Regions from separate parts of the Homo sapiens genome. Here region 1 is linked to region 2. Evidence: promoter capture Hi-C in human tissues and cell types (Jung and others, 2019). All regions are on one chromosome and are shown on one strand. The core of a region is centred on a gene start or on the middle of the fragment in contact, and the rest is flanking DNA. Distances in the headings are between cores, read along the strand shown.

The links. The method cuts DNA at HindIII sites, captures the fragments that hold promoters and counts their contacts. A contact is called where the count stands out against the background at its distance.
Region 1: a fragment that was not itself captured here is called in contact with the fragment with the promoter of HEG1 in region 2 in 1 of the 25 tissues and cell types used here (aorta).

Annotation. Positions count from the first base shown.
Region 1 is chr3:125,477,802-125,481,624 of GRCh38, forward strand. SNX4 (sorting nexin 4) reads right to left here. Exons shown (of 14, transcript NM_003794.4): 7 at 2,446-2,518. Among named protein-coding and RNA genes, the nearest start is that of SNX4, 40 kb to the right of the region's middle. The HindIII fragment of the contact is 3,256 bases long and covers 1-3,129 here.
Region 2 is chr3:125,053,536-125,057,732 of GRCh38, forward strand. It overlaps HEG1 (heart development protein with EGF like domains 1), which reads right to left and starts at 2,462. Exons shown (of 17, transcript NM_020733.2): 1 at 2,040-2,462. The coding sequence starts at 2,355. RefSeq lists silencers at 1,956-2,115, 2,176-2,265, 2,346-2,725 and an enhancer at 2,976-3,025. The HindIII fragment of the contact is 8,893 bases long and covers 120-4,197 here.

The DNA.
Region 1 (3,823 bases), core at 252-2,751, 420 kb after region 2:
GTTTTGTAAACAGAGTCTCACTGGAGCACTGTCAGGTTCACAGTGGAGCTGAATAGATGCAACAGAAACCATAAAGCTAACAAAGCTGAAAACACCTCCCATCTGGCCTTCAGAAACAAGATGCTGGCCCCTACATTAGAACCAGCTTTCAGGACAAAGTTCATAGTCCTACTCCTACTTGAAACTCTTACAGGTTGTCCCCAGACCTCTAAACTAATTTCTCTAGGATGTCATTTCCTCCTCCTCCTTCTTCTTCTTCTTATTATTATTACTATTATTATTATTATTATTATTTTGAGACGGAGTCTCACTCTGTCTCCCAGGCTAAAGTACAGTGGCACGATCTCAGCTCACTGCAATCTCTGCCTCTTGGGTTCAAGCGATTATCCCACCTCAGCCTCCCGAGTAGTGGGGATTACAGGCATGCACCACCACGCCCAGCTAGTTTTTGTATTTTTAGTAAAGACCATGCTGGTCAGGCTGGTCTCAAACTCCTGACCTCAAATGATCTGCCCACCTTGGCCTCCCAAAGTGCTGGGATTACAGGTACGAGCCACTGTGCCTGGCCCCCAAGTATTTTTTGAGCAGTCTGTGCAGTGTTGAATGTTTTTCTTTTCTTTTTTTTTTTTAAGTGGTTCCATCATCAAGTAAGGTTGGGAAACACTGAGACAATAAAATTTAACAGTTTTTTTTCTGTAGGACCTTTTAGACCTTTAACACCACATATGAATCATGACTGCTCAAGGGAGATACGGTTTGCAGTAGGGAACATCTTACAGGGTTAGCATTCCAGAGAATATATGATGGAAAATGTCATTCTAACACTAACTTTTCTAGATCCCTGTACTTTTAGATACCAAACCTCCTTCCTAAAAGCTGAGCATTCATCCTCTACTAAGATATTAAGCATGGAAGAAAAGAGAAGTTGCTGAAAAACCACTTAAGAAAAAAAAAAAACTAGAAGCAATGTGAGGGTACGATGCAGACTCTCTGAATGTTTGTCCCCCATCTGCACCTCCCACGAGAACTATTGCCTAATTTGTCTGGGTAATTTCTAGGCAACCAAAGGTCCACAAATTTTATCTCATTAATCCACAGTCCTTTCTAATACCCAGTTCTTGACTCTAGCCTAATAATTCTCGCAGGTAACTTTTATGAGAAGGTATCTTATAATTTATTCAAAGAGTCCAACGATACTCTTGAACAGTTAAACGGGAGATCAAGACAATATAAGACCTTCAGAAGAATTTTTTCCTTTATTGTATTTTTTCTGTACTGTCATGGAAATCTTGAAACATACAAAAAGCATATAGAACAGAAGGATATACCTCCATTTCTCAACACCCAGCTTCAGTAATTACTATATAGCCAAACTCATTTCTCCTAAAACTGCCCCCACTCTCCACTGCTCATCGGTGGACTCTTATTAAAACAAATTCCAGGCAATATATTTCATTTCAAGAGGATTCTGGCCAGGCATGGTGACTCATGACTATAATCCCAGCTCTTTGGGAGGCTGAGGTGGGCAGATCACTTGGGGCCAGGAGGAGTTCGAGACCAGCCTCGTTAACATGGTGAAACCCCATCTCTACTAAAAATAAAGATTAGCCAGGCATGGTGCTGCATGCCTGTAATCCCAGCTACTCAGGAGGCTGAGGCAGGAGAACTGCTTGAACCCGGGAGGTGGAGGTTGCAGTGAGCTGAGATTGTGCCACTGCACTCCAGCCTGGGTGACAGAGCGAGACTCCATCTCAAAATAATAATAATAATAATAATAATAACAACAAAGAGGATTCCAGATTCCAATCAGCATAAAATGTGACCTTACCTGGTATCCTAGTCTCTTTCAATGCCTTTGGCACAGGCATGTTCTAAGGTTCCTTCTAGGTTGCCACAAGAGACCAGAGCGGATGGTACATTTTCCAGGTACATTAATTTACTGAGAAGTATTTCCCTCTTTGCCTATTACAGCTGAACTATATGGTTAAGTATAATTATTATTCCTTGATTTCTAGTCCCTTTTGTCATGGCAGACTATTATCTGAAATTAGTTTATTTGGTAGAATTTAAGAGCACAGACACAGGATGGCCTAACACCTATAAACTATTTCACGGACCTTTAAAAAAAACATGAAAGAATATGATGTGTAGATCTAAAATCCTACACTTATTTACATTCCAGCACTGAAATGGCAGGCCTTTTGATAACATCCAAAACAACTATTCTATTACAAACCATGGAGAGAAAACAGGCTAAGTGAGTTGTTTATGACAGAAACCATTGCACATTTTTTTAAAAAGTGCAGTTTGGATGATGAACATATAAATTCAAATGCAAAAATCAGTTATTCATGGTAAATACCACCTACTACTTGAAAACAGAATGATTACATGAGAAGCACTTCCTTATGCATGTGCATCAAAAAGCTTTTGGGGACCACTTACAGCTCTGACTCGAAGAAGATGTGAGATGACAGACTGCAGTTCATCACTATAGTGCTTAAGGTCAGTAAATCTCCTGAAACAGGAAACAAATAAAACATCGTTTTTCAAATGAAAACAAGCAGTCAAAAACTGAAAGAAAAAAACAGTAGTTCCCGACAATAACAAAACTGATTCTATTTAACCATATGCTGGCCTTAAACATTTACACACCAATATAAATCCAAAAAACTCTAAAATAAAATGATATTTTCTGTTGATATTTTGAAAGTCAAGATATCACACTTCATAATTTACCTCGTGGAACTGAGATAGGTAAAAAAAATCTGTTGGTATGAAAAACTACTTTGAAAATACAAAACAGGAAAAACTTTAAGGAGCTAAAAGATACATTATGGTGCAATCATAAACTCATGGTCTCTAACCTCAATCTTAATTCTGCTCAAGTAATTTGCTTCCCTCATCTATTAACTGCCATTTTCCATAAGGACCAAAAACTTCTGATGCACCATCTGTCATTCTCCAAACAACCAAGCTTCACAGATAAACAAAAACCATCAGATGGGAACGACTCCCACCTCTACCTCCTGCCAATCAACTTACACACTTCCCCATATCTACATCATTTTTTCCCTCCCACTAGGATTTCTTCCCATCTAACGCTCTAGATTCCATTCCAGCTACACCCCATATTCCTGTTTCCTGACTTCCTATCTCTATAAACTTCTTCTCATCAGCATATCAATTAACTCAGGTCTCTCATAGATTAAAATACACACTCCCTTGACAACACACCCAGCTATTAACACCCTGTCAATATCCACCCCTTTTATAGCCAAGCTTTCACAAGGCATCACTTCCCCAGCAATAACCACTTCTTCCATTCCCATATACTGCACAGCCTATGAGAATCTAGCTTCTGCCTCCAGCACTATATAGTAGGGAAATATTCCTGACAAAGTCACCAACTATTTTCATGTTGTAATATCCAGTGATCAATCTTAGTTCTCCTCTTACTTGATCCTTTTGGCAATGCAACAGCTGACATCATCCTCCTCCTCAAAAATCTGTTTCCTTGTCAGTATTATTTTCTCATGGCTTTCATTTCACTCTCTGGTCACTCCTGAAGCTTCTTTTGTAGTACTCACTTCCTTCACCCATCTCTTATATCTCCAACTGTAGTCTGCAAAAAATTCCTGAAATCTTTTTTTTTTTTTTTTTTGAGACAGAGTTTCACTCTTGTTGCCCAGACTGGAGTGCAATGGCGCAATCTTGGCTCACCACAACCTCCGCCTCCCGAGTTCAAGCAGTTTTCCCGCCTTAGCCTCCCGAGTATCTGGGATTATAGGCATGTACCACCACACCCGTCTCTCTTTAGTAG
Region 2 (4,197 bases), core at 1,212-3,711:
CTGAAGAGGAGGCACTCCTTGGGTGGTGTCTGTGGGGCACCAGGAGACCAAGAGAACCTACCTAGGTAAGAGAAGGTGTACACTATTCCAACTACTCTCTCGCTGCTTTCTGGGATTCTCACATGTATTCCTTCCAGTACCTCATATACCTGAAGCCTCCATCACTCACCTCTGCAAAGGAATCAAACTGGGAAAGCCACAAAACCAAGACCAGCAGTGTTACCTGCCACACCTGTGAGGGATGTTTGGGTCACATAAGGCCCCAATTCTTACCAGCTGAGTCCTCTAAGCTAGCTGCCTCCACTGTCCCTACCTCTCTGTAATACCTGTAATACCTACCTCTCTCTAGAGATCCCGCCCCTAAGAGAAGGAAAGAGACTCATGTGCCTGCCCCATCCAGCCAGGGCCCCTGCAAGTCAGTGTCCCTCCCACCTATCCCCTAACAAGATGGAGGCCATTCAGCTAAGACAGCCTGACTACTACCCAGAGAAATCTGCCTTCGGCTCTTGGGTGTCTCCTCTGAAATGTTCTCAGTTCTCTGCAGTTCACCTTCTGTTTAGAAAAACTCACAAAATACTACACAGTGTTCCTCAGTTACTTTCCTAGTTGGAGAAAGTCGGGAAATATGTTGTTTTATGTTCTTGATTCCTTCCCGTGGAAGTTAGCAAAACAGCGTATGCTGTAAGTAATCTAAAGTCACAGTCACTCCGGGATGTGTCTCCTACACGTCTTCAGAAGCTTATCTCTCCTCTCCCTTTTCTTACTGTTCCTCGGTTTCTCAATCTTATGCCAGTGATTTAAAAATTCACAAAATAAGGCATTTTGCGATAATGGGAATACTGTTGAATATGAAATTGAGTTTTTACAGGAGAACTTGATTTTTAAAAATCCAAACTTTTTCTTATTTAACTCTAAGAAGCACCTCTAGGTTGGAGGAAGCAAGCTAATTCACGTGCCAGAAAGTCTGCATGAGATGAGAAACTTAAATGAATTGTCAATTATGCAGACAAAAAACTCAACTTTCAGGGAAACTCCAAATCAATGTCCAGTGTTGCAAGCAACCCAGCTTATTTGAATAGCCCGGACAGAGCATATGCCCTGTGTCACTCACAGGAAGGCAAAGGCTAACACCACCACGTTGCTGACTTTGTTCAAAGCACTTTCCATTTATTTTTACTTTCATTTTGTCACATCATCACTAGGAGGCTAGAAGGAACAGGGATCATCACTTTCATTTCACAGATGGAGAAAGTGAGCGCAAAGAGACAGCAGTCCCAAGGTCATAATGGTATTATGGTTAGAATTCCACTCAGTATGTGGCATATTTTTCCAGATCATAAGAAAGAACTGGACACAAAGGTAGCAGGGAGAAGAGGTCAGTTCCTTCTCTCTGCGTGGGACAGGCGGTGGCTACCACGGAGCAACAGTTCATTGGGAAAGGAAAGGGGAGGGAGGAGGCTCAGGGATGGTCCTGTATCAGCCTGTGCCTTGCAGGGGTTCAACCATGCAACCCCAACCGCGTTCCTTTGCTTTTAAGTCGAACCAGTAGAGCGTTTTGTTTCAAACTACGTACATCCTTTGTCCTTTACAATATCCCGTCCTAGAACCCCTTAAAAATCAGTTATTTAGATGAGAAAGTCGAGCCCTGTACCTGGAGAGGCCAGTTCTGTATAGCGGAAAAAATGAAACTGGGGACCGGCTGGCCAGATATCGGAGGTGGGAGAGATGCTTTGCAGTCTTTTTCCCTTTCCTTTCCATTTTTTTTAAAGTGGGGTGGAAGAGATACAGGGTACCCCATAGGAAATAAGTTTTCTTCCAAAGGGTTGGAGGAGAACGGGATAGTCACACCCCTCAGTCCAGCCAACTGCGAAAGCGTCCCTCCCTACCCGCCGACCCTCAGGGTCCCGCACACGCCGGGCGAGGAGCCCCCACCCTGGGTCGCGCCGCGCGGAGGGGCCTACGGCTGGGGATGCAGCCCGGGGCGCGCCCACGCCCCCAGCACAGACTGGCCAGGCGCCAGGTTCCCGGCTCTCACTCACCCGCGCTCCCGCCTCTGGGGGCCCGGCCGGAGGGTCCCCGCTGTGTCGCGGCGCCTGGCTCAGGGGCCCTGTAGCTGGGGCCGGGGGTCGCGGGCCCGCGGCGCTCCCGGGGCGGCGTGGGCGGCGGCTCGCGCTCCGGGCGGCGCTCCAGCTGCAGCTCCAGCCCCGCTCCCGCGAGGGGCGCCAGGCTCAGCGCGCGGCGAGCCGGGGAAGGCGGCGGGTCCCGCGTCCCGGGGGCCGCCGGCGGCAGCAGCAGCAGCGGCAGCAACAGCAGCAGGAGCGGCGGCGGCCACCGCGAGGCGCGCGGCGAGGCCATGGTGACGGCGCCCGCCCGCGCTCACATGCCCGGCGCGCGGGGCGAGGGCAGCGGGCAGCGGGCAGCGGGCGGCGGGGGCCGCGCGGGGCCGGGGAAGTGAGCGGAGTGAGGCTGCGAGCGCGCTCCCCGCCTCAAAAGTTATCGGGAGCCGCGGGAGGGCTGCCGGGGGCCGGGCTGGCTGGGCGGAGGCGGCCCGCGGCGCCGCTACATGCTAATTAGCCCGGGCGGGTCGCTGGCTGGCGGGCGGCTCCTCCTCAGTTGACATCACCGGCCCCGCGCGGCGGGCCCGGAGGCGGGGAGAGGGCAGGAAGGGGGCTGGGGCCGGGCGCCTGGAGAGCGGCCCGGCCCGGGACAGCGGGATGAGGTCAGCGGAGCCACGGTGCTGCAACTTTTGTCACACACATGCTCCAGAGTCTTCTGAATCGGGCACCACCTACCCAACTCCTTAAACGCACAAGAAGTAGGTGAAAAGCAGGTCCTGGGTAATGTGATTAGCACCAGACTAGATTATCCCAAGTGCTTTGATAGGAGAGAGAAAGGGAACGGTCCCCTGGTACCCAGCCCGCGCTGTCACCGCCGTTATTGATTTGAAGTGTCCCCACTCCCACCCCCACCTCCCCTTCTTCAGGCCCCAGGGCTGGTGATGAGCTCGTGTTTGCCAAACCTAACACCTCACCCTCCGGCCAACGCGAGAATCCGAGTATCCCCCACGCCCTCTCAAGCTTGGATGCCGTTCCCATCCGACCACTGCCTTTGGCTCACACCAGAGTTCTGCAGAGATGTCACCGCGAGGACACCCAAACAGGCTGCAGGGAAAAGAAAACTGTGAATTCAGGCAGGCTAGGGCAAACTCATCATCAGGAAAAGAACTGCAGATCGCAAATTAAACCAAATGATGCCCAGAGAACACAGAATTTTAAATGGAAACCTATGGGGAAAGATTCAAAGATTTCATGTAAACAAATTTTCTTGGTCAATAAAGTTCCATTTGTTTCCATAACCTCTCCCTCCCCAGTAAATGAATAATAAACTGTCTAAAGTTTAGGACTGTAAGCCACCTCATTAAGTGAAGAAAGAGGGGCTCAAATGGGAAAATAACTTGCTCAAGATTCTGAAGGTAGACCCGAAGACGAAATGATTGATCTGTGAATGACCATGTGATATTATTAATTCTGGTCTCCTAATTCAGAGTTTGCAATAATTCGCAAACGGAAACAAATAGTATTGCAACAGAAACAAATGTTGCAGCTCCTTGGGGTTCTTGCGAGTTCTGTTGGGGGCCCCTGTCTGACAACCAAATGCTCGTGAAAATATGAGTATGCACCTCACTGTCAGGCCTGGCTCTCCATCCTATTTCTCTGCTCTTCTCTTTTTCTCTGTCTCCAGATCTCCATGACCCACCTCCAGGAGAATGAGATCGTAGTGTCCAGGGCAGCTGCAGATGGGCCTAGGCCCACTTTCTGGTGACTCAGTACAAGTGAGTCATTTGGCAGAAAAACATAAAGGAGGCTGTGTATAAACAAACTCACCTTAAATGAGAGAATGAGGAGTAAAGATTTGGTTTTATTTTGTTTTGTTTTTAAACAAACCAGCTTTCCAGGGCTCTAACACAGAACTTCCAGGTCTCTCCAAGAAAGTACCAAACAGTAATCTCCCTGAAACTGACTTGGTTTGCTCCCATGGCCTGAGCTTAACTTCTCTGGATGCTGCTCTCACATTAACAGGCAGGACTGCACAGCTGCCCAGACCCAGCCAGACAAGCCCCAACAGACTAGGACTGTGCTCAGAGGTTCTGGTCACTGCCACTCCCTCCCCTCCAAGGAGACCATGTCACATAGTACT